4 separate regions of the Homo sapiens genome follow, and regions 1, 3 and 4 are each linked to region 2. Evidence: promoter capture Hi-C in 16 types of primary human blood cells and fetal thymus (Javierre and others, 2016). All regions are on one chromosome and are shown on one strand. Each heading gives the region's core, a stretch centred on a gene start or on the middle of the fragment in contact. The rest is flanking DNA. Distances are from core to core; before and after follow the strand shown.

Region 1 (3,422 bases), core at 312-2,811, 160 kb before region 2:
GTGGGACCTTGTGATTGTGTGAGTTTCTTAATAAACTCCATAGATATATATATATCCTGTTAGTTCTGTTCCTCTAGAGAACCCTGACTAATACAGATATTGGTACCAGTAGAGTGGGGCACTGCTGAAAAGATACCCAAAATTGTGGCAGTAAGTTTGGGGTTGGGAAATAGGCAAGGGTTGGAACAGTTTGGAGGACTCAGAAGAAGACAGGAAAATGTGGGAATGTTTGGAACTTTCTAGAGACTTGCTGAATGTCTTTGCCCAAAATGCTGATAGCGATATGGATGGTAGGGTCTGGGTTGAGGTGGTCTCAGATGGAGATGAGAAACTTTTGGGGAACTTGAGCAAAGGTAACTCTTGTTATGTTTTAGCAAAGAGACTAACAGCATTTCGCCACTGCCCTAGAGATTTGTGGAACTTTGAACTTGAGAGAAATGAGTTAGGGTATCTGGCAGAAGAAATTCCTAAGTAGCAAAGCATTCAAAAGGTGACTTGGGTGCTGTTAAAGGTATTCAGTTTTATAAGGGAAGCAGAGCATAGAAGCTGAGAAAATTTGCAGCTTGACAATGCAATAGAAAAGAAAATACCATTTTCTGAGGAGAAATACAAGCCACCTGCAGAAATTTGCATAAGTAACAAGAAGCTGAATGTTAGTCCCCAAGATAATGTGGAAAATGTCTCCAGGGCATGTCAGAGGTCTTCACAGCAGCCCCTCCCATCACAGACCGGAGGCCTAGGAAGAAAAAGTGGTTATGTGGACCGAGCCCAGGGTCCCCCTGCTGTGTGTAGCCTAGGGACTTGCTGCCCTGGTTCCCAGCTGCTCCACCTGTGGCTTAACGGGGACAATGTAGAGCTCAGGCTGTGGCTTCAGAGGGTGCAAGCTGCAAGACTTGGCAGCTTCCACATGGTGTCGAGCCTGCCAGTGCACAGAAGTCAAGAATTGGGGTTTGGGAACCTCTGCCCAGATTTCAGACAATATATGGAAATGCCTGGATGTCAGGCAGAAGTTTTCTGAAGAAGCAGGACTCTCATGAAGAACCTCTGCTAAGGCAGTGCAGAAGGAAAATGTGGGGTTGGAGTTCCCACACAGTATCCCTACTGGGGCACTGCCTAGCAGAGTTGTGAGACGAGTTGTCCTCCAGACCCCAGAATGGGAGATCCATTGATAGTTTGCACTGTTTGCCTGGAAAAGCCACAGACACTCAACACCAGCCCATGAAAGCAGCCAGGAGCGAGACTGTACCCACAAAGCCACAGGAGCAGAGCTGCCCAAGACCACAGTAACCCACCTCTTGCATCAGCGTGATGCAGATGTGAGACATGGAGTTAAAGGAGATCATTTTGCAGTTTTTAGATTTGACTGTCCTGCTAGATTTCAGACTTGCATGAGGCCTGTAGCCCCTTTGTTTGGCCAACTTCCCCCAATTTGGGACAGGTATATTTACCCATTGCCTGTACCCCATTGTACCTAGGAAGTAACTAACTTATTTTTACAGGCTCATAGGCAGAAGGGACTTGCCTTGTCTCAGATGAGACTTTGGACTGTGGACTTTTGAGTTAATGATGAAATGAGTCAAGACTTTGGGGGACTGTTGGGAAGGCATGATTGATTTTGAAATGTGAGGACATGAGATTTGGCAGGGGGCAAGGGTGGAATGTTATGGTTTGTCTTTGTTTCCCCACCCAAATCTCATCTTACATTGTATTCCCATAATTCCCACATGTTGTGAGAGGGTCCTGGTGGGAGATAATTGAATCATGGAGCCGGTTTCCCCCATACTGTTCTCATGATAGTGAATAAGTCTCACAAGATCTGACAGTTTTATAAGGAGTTTCCACTTTTGCTTCATTCTCATTCTCTCTTTGCCTTGCTGCCATCCATGCAAGACTTGACTTGCTCCTCCTTGCCTTCTGCCATGATTGTGAGGCCTCCCCAGTCATGTGGGACTGTGAGTCCATTAGACCTCTTTTTCTTCCCAGTCTCACATATGTCTTTATCAGCAGTGTGAAAATGGACTAATACAAACCTTTAGCCAGACTATGGGGAAAAAAGGGAGAAAAGTCAAATAAATAAAATTGAGATGAAAAAGAAGACATTACACTAAAACCACAGAAATTCAAAGAATCATTAGAGACTACTATGAGAAAATGTATGCCAAAAAATTTGAAAACCTAGAAAAAAATGGATATATTCCTAGATACATACAACCTGCAAAGATTGAACCATGAAAAAATCCAAAATCTGAATAGACAAATAACAAGTAATGAGATCAAAGCTGTAATAAAGTCTCCGATCAAAGAAAAGCCCAATACCTGATGGATTCACTGCTGAATTCTACCAAATATTTGAAAAACTAATACCAGTCTTACTCAATCTATTCCAAAAAATTCAAGGAGGAGGGAATACTTCCAAACTCCTTCTATAAGGCCAGTATTATCCTGATACCAAAACCAGAGAAAGGCACATCAAAAAAAGAAAACTGCAAGCCAATATCTCTGATGAATATTGTTGCAAAAATTCTCAACAAAATACTAGCAAACATTTTCAACAATACATTTAAAAGATCATTCATCACGACCAGGTGAAATTTATCCCAGGGATTCAAGGATGGTTCAACAGATACAAATCAACTGATATGATTCATCATATCAGCAGAACAAAGGACAAAAAGTATATGATCATTTAAATCGATGCTGAAAAACCATTTGATAAAATTTGACATCCCTTCATTCATGATAAAAAAAAAAAACTTGGTATAGAAGGAACATATCTCAACATAATAAAAGTTATATAAGACAGACCCACAGCTAGTACCATACTGAATGGGGAAAAACTGAACACCTTTCCTGTAAGGTCTGGAAGACAACAAGGATGGCCACTTTCACCGCTGTTATTCAACATAGTACTGGAAGTCCTAGCTAGAGCAATCAGACAAGAGAAAAAAATAAAGGCCATCAAAATTGGAAAGAAATAAGTCAAATTATCCATGTTTGCAGATTATATGATCTTATATAGAGAAAAACCAAAAACCCTAAAGACCACAAGAAAACTGTTAGAACTGATAAACAAGTTCAGTAATGTTTCAAGATACAAAGTTCAACATACAAAAATCAGTAGCATTTCTTTTTTTATATTTTTTTTAAGACAGAGTCTCACTCTTGTTGTCCAGGCTGGAGTACAATGGTGCAATCTCGGCTCACTGAAACCTCTGCCTCCCAAGTCGCTGGGATTACAAGCATGTGCCACCACACCTGGCTAATTTTGTATTTTTAGTAGAGACACAGTTTCACCATGTTGGTCAGGCTGGTCTCAAACTCCTGATCTCAGGTGATCACCCCGCTGGCCTCCCAAAGTGCTGGGATTACAGGTGTGAGCCACTGCACCGGGCCAAAAATCAGTAGCATTTCTATATATCAAC
Region 2 (3,485 bases), core at 282-2,781:
GACTGGACTACGGAGCCAGCCCTCCAGGGTTGGAACTGAGTTTGAATCTCAGCTTGACTACTTACTAGGATCTAAGGTAACATGTTTAATCTCTCTGTGCTCAGTTTCCTCATCTGGAAATAGAGATTATAATGCTCCTCCCTCATATGATCATAGTGAGGACTGAAAGAGTTAATGCATATAAGGAGTGTTAGGACAGGATCTGGCACATGGTAAATGCTTTATAAGTGTTAGTTGTTATCATCATGATTATTCTTGTTTGAATTATAAGAGAAAAAGCATGTATCTTAAGAATAGAGGGTTTTAAAATGCTCCCAAGTTCCTTAACCAACCTGAGCCATCTGTAAATTAAGTACTATGGGATTTCCAGCTCTGACATGTATTCTGACATGTAACTGGCATCAGTTTAATACAAACTATTCTAAAATGTCTTGTGCCCTTGACAGGGAGGTCCAAGTACTGGATACTTGCAATGCAATCCAGCAGTGGCCCCGTCTTTCTTACAAAAAGGCCCCAGTCACATGTTGATGAGGCTAGATCTATTCCTGTCCTCCTTCTCTTCCCCATATTTCCTTATTCTTCTTCAAGTCTAAACGTTTATTGAACTGAGACCCATGAATGAGTTACTCGACTAGGCTTGTAGGATAAACTTGCCAGGCTTTAGATCTATTTGTTCCTTTCCATCCCCCAAAATCAAATGGCTGCTCCAGGAAAATGTTCCCCTTGTGGCAGGGTCCGGGAGAAAAGAGAGAAGCGACAAAACCAAAAATTAAAACGACCGAAGTCCCATATGCTCCAGGAATATGTCCTGGAGATGGGAGTGGAGGGCAGGGGGAGAATGTTGTTGAGGTCAAAATTTTTGAAGTTTTAAGTCCTATATCTTGACATCCCGAGTATAAATGCGGGTACCAGACACAGTACAAACGTTCTCAAAGCCCAGTTACGTATTCCAAACCAAACGCGGGCTCTTGAAGGGTGATGAGGTAGGGATGAAATCCAGGATCGCCTGAAGACCATTTCTTCCTCTCTTAGGGACCTGCTGGTCTCCAGCTGATTCGGTCCAGGAGGAAAAACCTCCCACTTGCTCCTCTCGGGCTCCCTGCAAGGAGAGAGTAGAGACACTCCTGCCACCCAGTTGCAAGAAGTCGCCACTTCCCCCTCCAGCCGACTGAAAGTTCGGGCGACGTCTGGGCCGTCATTTGAAGGCGTTTCCTTTTCTTTAAGAACAAAGGTTGGAGCCCAAGCCTTGCGGCGCGGTGCAGGAAAGTACACGGCGTGTGTTGAGAGAAAAAAAATACACACACGCAATGACCCACGAGAAAGGGAAAGGGGAAAACACCAACTACCCGGGCGCTGGGCTTTTTCGACTTTTCCTTTAAAAAGAAAAAAGTTTTTCAAGCTGTAGGTTCCAAGAACAGGCAGGAGGGGGGAGAAGGGGGGGGGGGTTGCAGAAAAGGCGCCTGGTCGGTTATGAGTCACAAGTGAGTTATAAAAGGGTCGCACGTTCGCAGGCGCGGGCTTCCTGTGCGCGGCCGAGCCCGGGCCCAGCGCCGCCTGCAGCCTCGGGAAGGGAGCGGATAGCGGAGCCCCGAGCCGCCCGCAGAGCAAGCGCGGGGAACCAAGGAGACGCTCCTGGCACTGCAGGTACGCCGACTTCAGTCTCGCGCTCCCGCCCGCCTTTCCTCTCTTGAACGTGGCAGGGACGCCGGGGGACTTCGGTGCGAGGGTCACCGCCGGGTTAACTGGCGAGGCAAGGCGGGGGCAGCGCGCACGTGGCCGTGGAGCCCGGCCTGGTCCCGCGCGCGCCTGCGGGTGCCCCCTGGGGACTCAGTGGTGTCGCCTCGCCCGGGACCAGAGATTGCGCTGGATGGATTCCCGCGGGCAGAGGCAGGGGGAAGGAGGGGTGTTCGAAACCTAATACTTGAGCTTCTTTGCAAAGTTTCCTTGGATGGTTGGGGACGTACCTGTATAATGGCCCTGGACCAGCTTCCCTGTTGGAGTGGCCAGAGAAGTGTGTAAAACACACTAGAGGGGCAGGGTGGAAAAAGAGACTGCCTTCAAAACTTGTATCTTTTCGATTTCATTTTGAAAAATAACTACAAATCTATTTTAATTTTACAAAGTTAGACTCATAGCATTTTAGATATCAATGTCTTCATTTAACAGAAGTGAAGATGGAGCAAACGCTCAATCAGCGTCTGTATTTATTCGCTCCTGTTGTGCCAGGGTGCGTTTTTGCCGAGCGGTTGCCTTTCTTTACTCACAAAACCCCCTTGATGTCTGTCCTCCACGTTTTACGAGGGAGAGCCGGATCTTTTGAAGTTTGTATCATCTAAAGCAGGTATATTGGGATGACTATGGATAGAATTTAACCTGAAAACACTGAAGTTGACAGCTGACAAAGATATAAGAATCCAAAGTATGTTAAAAATTAAGGAGCTGAGGCCCACAGAAGTGAAGTTACTTTTCCAGCATCACACAGCAGATCTAGGACCCTGTGTGATTTGAAAAGGCCAAGGTATCTAATGATGCTCATAATTTAGTTTACATTTTGTGTCAAATAGATGAGGTCAAGTGGACATTATGTGTATATTCCAAAGCCAAAATTACTGCTTGTAATATCCATTCATCTCTCCGAAGACGTAGTGCCTCTTTTATATGGCTTTAACCTAATGTATAATCGAAGTGAATTAGGGCAGCCAGACTTTTAATCACAGGACTGATCTTTTAAAAACGGGTATATGTAAAGTTAATTGCTTATCTATGTGAACAGTAATATACACTATAAAAAGTTTTCAAGGCAACTTCCTGCCTGTGGTTTAATTTGATAGTCACAATGATAGGAAATTGGCAGGGTTAGGTGGTGGTATCTACATTTTGCCCATGAGGACTTGTGGCTCAGAGAATTTGAGTTTTTTCTAGTAAGGTCACTAGGTCCCTAGTGCACAGCCTGCTTTTAGGTACGGATGTGGGATGGGGGTGTCGGCAGACCACAGGGTTTTGACTCTCAGTTTGGGCTCATTTCCATGACTCCTTGCTGCCTCCCTGATTTCTGTCAAATGACCAAAGCACATTTAGTAATTACTTCTGCTGCAAGGACTACTCCTTATTAGGCTGTGATAAGTAAGTTTCCTCACATAGTGGGTCAGCTCACTCTGGCCACAGGACCCAGCTTCCTAACCACACACATTAAGAAAGAGAAAAATTAGCACTGTCTGAGACCTACAACCACTTCAAGGGAGAACAGTGGTGTTTGCACAAATGTCTACTTTTGTTTTAACCTAGTCATGTGTAAAAAGTGTAATTCACTGGTCTTTACCAAAAAAAAAAAAAAAAAAACAACAACAAAAAAAAAACAGGCATCATAGTCTGCCTGTGCTGGACGCTATGCTAGACACTGGAGAGACAAAGGTGAGCAGGATAGGCACAACCCTACCCTTACAAACCCAGAAAGTTAGAGGAAAGGCCATCAGGACATTGCTGTG
Region 3 (3,126 bases), core at 316-2,815, 180 kb before region 2:
TTGAGGATGTAACACCTGATAAACTAATGGCTACGTGAGTGCAGGCAAGGGACGGAACGTTTTAACTCCAAGAGTCAGGAAATCCATCATGAAGGTATCATATGCTTGAGACCTTGAGGACAGAAGGGATTTCCACAGTGGAAGGAGATTACTCCAGGCTTTCCAACTGCAGATGCAAAGACATTGTCTCTTCCACCTTGAGAATACTGAAATCTTCTTTATTTGATTATCTTTTGGACCTACTCTGAATAGCTGCTAAGGTAATTTTCATTCTTTTTTTTTTTTTTTTTTTTTTTTGAGACAGAGTCTCGCTCTGTCGCCCAGGCTGGAGTGCAGTCACTGCAACATAAGCCTCCCGGATTCACACCATTCTCCTGCCTCAGTCTCCTGAGTAGCTGGGACTACAGGCACCCGCCACCATGCCCGGCTGATTCTTTGTATTTTTTAGTAGAGACGGGGTTTCACCGTGTTAGCCAGGATGGTCTCGATCTTCTGACCTCGTGATCCCCCCGCCTTGGCCTCCCAAAGGGCTGGGATTACAGGCGTGAGCCATCGCGCCCGGCTGGTAATTTTCATTCTTATAATTGCTGACTAGTTGAGAAGAAGAGGTCCCAAACTACAGAGAAGAAAGGAAGAAAGATGTGTCCAGTGAAATCCAGGGTCCCCCCGCTCCCATTCAAGGCCATCTGAAAGTATCTCCCCCTGCTTTTCAAGTTCATCGAATATGTTTAAGAAACCTGGAATTTCCAAGTCCATCAGCCTATTGAAACAAAACAGCTATAACTATAAAATTTAGATCCTTTTAAGATTTTCAATCCTTAGAATTAAAGATATTTATTACAAAATATAGTTGTATTAAATCATATATGTCAAAATATTACAAACGTGTATTTCATATTAGATAACTATCAACAACACAAAATTTCCTATCATTTTTCCTAGTGCTCCATTTTTTCAGACCTTTTCTTAATCTATTTTCTTGTCTGAGACCAAATACAAATGAATCAAAAGCCATTTCAGTGTTACATATTGGGTTTCCACGCATCCCTGTAGCATCTTTATCAGTAGCCTTGCGCAGAGTACACACTTTTGTACCTCCTTCTTATTAGCAACTTCATTTTTTCATAGTACAGAAAAGAATTCATATAACCCCATCAGGTTCCTTACATGGACCCAAGTTAAAACGCATCATCTCAATGTCAGTCTCTTGGCTGTCTGCAGGGTAATATGGTGAATTGCTGCCTGTGCTGTAATTTTGTCAGCTCTTTAGTAAATTACAGTCAAGGATAAAGAGGACAGAGCTGCCTACTGACAAACAACATTCTTTATTCTCCTTTTTCTACAATGTACTGAATAATACCTTAGAGCGTAAGTCATCATATACCCTATATAACAAATGTATAATTACAACACATGAAGCCCAAAAAATGAGCTTCAAAGAATATCACGTTTTTTTTTAAACAGGAAGTGGAAAGATGTTTCAGAAGAGTGAGCACAGGTTTTAGACTCTGAAATCTTTTAGCAGCATGATGCTTTTGAACATCTGATCTAGGTTTTGATTCTGCTAGCTACATGTATATTTTAGCCTTTGGTCTTGCATTAAAACACCAGTTGCAAATAATGTTAGAAAAATGGGGAATAGAGGAAGGAATATTTTTATTTACTTTATTTTTAAAATTCTGCATATATAAAGAACGTTGCTTGTGGCATCCCTGACTCTTTGCAACAACCTTATAAAGTCGTCATTATTAGCCTCATGTTACAGCAGAAGCTGTGAGTTGCTGCCAAAGTTGCTTACTATCAACCTCTGAAGAGATGAAACAGAGAGTCATACAAGATCTGTTTAAATCCAACAGCCTTTGACACTTTAAACTTCAGAACACATTGGATTTACACGTGTAAAATTGCCTTAGAGTTTGTAATTTCATGAAAGCAAAAATTCAACTTTTCCTTAAGAACAAATTTAGCATGTATGCCTTGAAACTGGCTTATTAAATAATATGAAAATGTTCATTGTGGCTATTTGGCCTCCTAATGCTTAGTTTTATTTAGCAAACATCAAAACAAAATATGTATTAATCCAAAGCAAATATATTTTATTTAATTGGATTATTAATAGTTCACTAACATCATACTGTAGGTATTTTTCTTTTCTATAAATGTTTTATATTCCAGTCTATTCAAAACCTTACGAACCAAATCCTTTAAAGGACGTAAGTCACACATATTTTCAAACCAACAAAATAGTAAAATTCAGGGAACATTAGATGGAATAGGGAAGATGAAATAAAGAAGCAACTAAGAGATTTACAAGAATGGAGTTCTTCTGCCACCTTGTGGTTGTTCTGTGTTATAACCTAGAGCTACATTAAAATATTCAGGGAATTCTTCAGCCAGAGTCTCTTTAGCCAGGTGTGGCGCGTGGCTGAGCTCTGGTCAATGGAATGTGGCCTTGGTCTTTATTGACTGTGGTTATCGTGTTTCCATTTTTTTCTTCCTGAATATCATAGCTAATTTTGGTATTGGCGACGACCGCTTTCTTAAACTTTCTCTTCTGCTGGGTTTAGATTTTTCTCTCCTTGTTTTTCTCCTATGAAACAAATAAGCATTACTAGATTTCATCAAAGATCATCACTTCATCACATCAAAGATTTCACTTCACTCTAGCCAAACTGGCCTCCCTGATTCTCCTGCAACACCTCACACATGGTCCCCTTAGGGTCTTCTACAACTTAACATCCCTGGCTGCAACACTTTCCTCTGATACCATATGGGACCTACTCCACCTCTTTCAAGTCTTTGTTCAAATGTTTGTTTTTCAATGACCACCATATTTAGAAATGCAACTTCTGCTAACAAACTCCTTATTATTTTTATCTTACTTTATTTTTTACTGCAGTTATTCTAACATACTACATAATTTTAATACTTATTGTGTTTATTGTCTTTTTTACCATAGAATATAAAATCCATGAGGGCAAGGGAGTTTGTTTACTTCACTGCTGTGTGCTCTGAAACAAACAAACAAAAAAAACTGCCTGGCACATTGTAGGCGCTCAAAAAATATTTGTCCAATTACCGAATGAAAGAATTATAACTCCTTCTGTTGGCTAAAGCAACCTACGG
Region 4 (3,252 bases), core at 78-2,577, 190 kb before region 2:
TGGACCCCGAGTCTAGACTGAACTGTGAGTCCTCAAATTTTGTTTTCATGTCCACCGATAAGCCCTATCTGTCTAGACTACACAGCTATGAAATACTACAAAAATCTCAGTCAATTTCCAAATCTTGAACACAAATCTATTCCATGCAACTCATGTGTCATGCATATTTTACTGTATTCTTATCCTCTGAAAGTTAGTTGTGTTTTAAAACACGTAGGAAAATTCTCTCTTAACCAAATTATTTTAGCAAAATATTATACACATATTTGCAAACATTGCACACATTTATGCTGCTTAAACAGTGACTGACTAATAAGCAAGAACTAGAGTAGACTCTATCCAGCCAGCCAAACGCCAGCTCTCCCTAAGTGCTCTGCTTGTGGCTCTGTCCACCTTCTGACTCTGCTGTCTCTACTCTTTATCATACGTCTTCTAGTTTTCCGGAGAGAGATGTTCTAGATATGTACCTTCTGATTTAAGAAAAAAGCACCTCTATCTCTGCCAATTGTAAAAATTGACAGCAATATATCATATCCATCATTGTTATAAAAATACTGTGTATATCAAAATATACTACTCCCCTTTGTTATGCTGATGATATCTGGTTGCCCTCTATAAAGGGACAAGGGTTTCTATAACCACAAGCCTGCTTCGCCACATGCCCCTCTTCCTTGAATAAGAAAGGTTCAGACCATGAGTCGACTAGACCCCAACACTCAGTTGTCCCAAGAGGCATGATTGAGGGTAGAAGGAATAGCAGAGACAGCATATGCACAACCATTTTTAGAACTTTGGCAACAGGTAGTTTAGGTGAGCTTTTGAAAGGTGCATAGAGGCTCCCGCTCAGTCTTTCACCTGTGTCTCAGTATTATGAAGGCAATTCTGTTTGGTTTGTGTTTTGTTTTGGCAGTGCTACAAAGGACCTCAACACTTCCAGCCAAGGCAGGACCCCTCTAATGAAAAAATATTTGTCCTGAGGGCCCCCCTTGGGGTGGCAGAGACACTGATGTGTCAGTTGAGATTTATGACAATGATGTAAAGCAGAGAAAAGACCATGCAGGGTTGGCTCACAAAACTGTTGGTGGAGTTGGGGGGAAAGGACAGGCCACTGGGCTGCTGCCATTGCTAGGAGTGGGAGAAAGATTCAATCGAGAACTTATTGAGTGCCTACTATGTGGCAGGAACTTAACGGAAGTGATCATCTCCTAGTTCTTATGGTCACTTTTTGAAATGGTTACTACTATCCATATTTTATGGATCAAATTTTCCAAATATTTATTCACACCTTATGTGACATATACTGCACCATGAAGTTATCTGTCTTAAAAGTGAGAACTGGCTGGGCATGGTGGCTCATGCCTGTAATCCCAGCACTTTGGGAGGCTGAGGCGGGTGGATCACTTGAGGCCAGGAGTTCAAGACCAGCCTGGCCAACATGGTGAGACCTGTCTCTACTAAAAATACAAAAAAATTAGCCTGTCGTGGTAGTGCATGCTTGTGGTCCCAGCTACTTGGGAGGGTGAGGCAGGAGGATCACTTGAACCTGGGAGACTGGAGGTTGCTGTGAGCCAGGATTGCTCCACTGCACTCCAGCCTGGGTGACAGAGTGAGACTCTGTCTCAAAAAAAAAAAAAAAAAAAGTGAGAACTAACAATAAAATTCCTAGCCCCCAAGGATGGAATGAACCCCTCTCTTAGCCAATGGGACCCCAGGGAAATATTAAAAACTGAATTCCTAGCCATGATGGAATGGGAGTTCAAACATGTTTCATGATACCCTCCTTTTTGTGGTTTAGACATGAAAACTGACCAGCATTAACACTGAAACAGATCATAAGACTGATGGAACAGACTCTTTGTGGCAATAAGATACCAAATTATAAAGACCTAACACCATACCAGGCAAGGGTTAAGTCACACACCCCTACACTTAAAGAATAAATTCTGTTCTAACTGCCACCAGATTTCTTTTTCCATAGTGGCTAAACGAGCATCGGCCTCAAGATAAGCAATATTAAAAACAATTATAGCTCATCCACCACCAGACGCAGACTAACTCCCTGTTCCACAAGCCGTAACTATAGCTTTGATTGAACCAGAAGCTGATTTCAGTAACTTTCTTCTGATAAGAGGCCACTAACTATAGGATGGTTCTGGCCAGTTTACAGAGGCTGCATGCTAGAGTGCCTCGTTTTTTTCGCTTCACTTTTTTGACCCAATTGTAATGCATTTAAAGGTGAAGTCTCCACTCCCAACGTGAAATGGGACACATGTAACATGCATGTTTATTCAATATGCATGCATCAGGATCTTCTTTGTAAATATTCATAGCTTCTCCTATAACTGTTGAATATATATGTGTAGCCAACCTGTTTAGCGTAAAGCTCCTGCCCCAACCCCCCCTCCTATGCAGTGCCTGTTAACAGTCTCTGCTGGAGGCTACACTTCCCAGCCTGGCAGGATGGCTACCCTGCAGTCTGTAACCCTTTATAAAAAATAAAGTCTCCTTTCCAAAGTACATAGGCAATTGAAGTAGAATATAATAAGTGATATGAAGTATAGAGAAAATGATCACCTGTCTAGCTGGAGGATTGAGAGTAGGCTTCTAAGATAACATCCAAACTGACTCTTGAAGCATAAGAAACCCATTTTACCTGGGATTATCCAGTTGAAAAACCAAGGCAGGGGCAGCCAGGAAACTCCATGTACAAATTAGAGAAAACAAAGTTTAAGTCTCAGTTTCCTTATAAAAGTTAGGACCAGGATTTAAACTCAGCTTTGACTCCAAAGATTGTGTTTATTCTACTTCCACCAAAATTTAGAAAGGAAAATGGTAGTAGATGCATATACAACTGCCTCTCCATCCTTCACAGGTGTATCTAGAGCCAACTCTCACCACTGTGATTTTCCAGGACATGGTTTTCTTACCCTGTTGCTCCCATGAAGAACAAAATGCAGTTTGAACTAGTTGACAACAGTAACATAGAGAGTTCTGAAGTACTTTTTTGACTGCCAAAGCTCCCCTGATGGGAGTTGGCAGCAGAAATACTTTCTGGGTTAGACAATTACTGGTAGTAAAGAATCCCTGAAGGTTACACCTAACTCCAGTTATGCCATTACTTACACCGAATGTTGACCTACCCATGTATAATAGGCAGCAAAGAAATATTTTTTAGTTAGTGACTGAGAGCTCTTTTCATACAATATTATAGTTCTCATATTTTTAACAATTATTACTGATTGTTCTAATTTT

The links. The method cuts DNA at HindIII sites, captures the fragments that hold promoters and counts their contacts. A CHiCAGO score of 5 or more calls a contact.
Region 1: a contact is called between a fragment that was not itself captured here and the fragment with the promoter of MIR155HG in region 2, in 1 of 17 cell types (activated CD4 T cells). The highest score is 7.5, in activated CD4 T cells.
Region 3: a fragment that was not itself captured here is called in contact with the fragment with the promoter of MIR155HG in region 2 in 1 of 17 cell types (activated CD4 T cells); the score reaches 7.3 in activated CD4 T cells.
Region 4: a contact is called between a fragment that was not itself captured here and the fragment with the promoter of MIR155HG in region 2, in 1 of 17 cell types (activated CD4 T cells). The highest score is 5.4, in activated CD4 T cells.

Annotation. Positions count from the first base shown.
Region 1 is chr21:25,401,492-25,404,913 of GRCh38, forward strand. All of the region lies in intron 4 of LINC00158 (long intergenic non-protein coding RNA 158), which reads right to left. Among named protein-coding and RNA genes, the nearest start is that of LINC00158, 28 kb to the right of the region's middle. The HindIII fragment of the contact is 5,453 bases long and covers 1-3,422 here.
Region 2 is chr21:25,560,614-25,564,098 of GRCh38, forward strand. It overlaps MIR155HG (MIR155 host gene), which reads left to right and starts at 1,532. Exons shown (of 3, transcript NR_001458.3): 1 at 1,532-1,644. RefSeq lists an enhancer at 1,067-1,116 and silencers at 1,497-1,586, 1,597-1,876. The HindIII fragment of the contact is 13,141 bases long and covers 1-3,485 here.
Region 3 is chr21:25,383,749-25,386,874 of GRCh38, forward strand. LINC00158 (long intergenic non-protein coding RNA 158) reads right to left here. Exons shown (of 5, transcript NR_024027.2): 5 at 2,072-2,590. Among named protein-coding and RNA genes, the nearest start is that of LINC00158, 46 kb to the right of the region's middle. The HindIII fragment of the contact is 6,485 bases long and covers 1-3,126 here.
Region 4 is chr21:25,366,658-25,369,909 of GRCh38, forward strand. No RefSeq gene overlaps it. Among named protein-coding and RNA genes, the nearest start is that of LINC00158, 63 kb to the right of the region's middle. The HindIII fragment of the contact is 4,256 bases long and covers 1-3,252 here.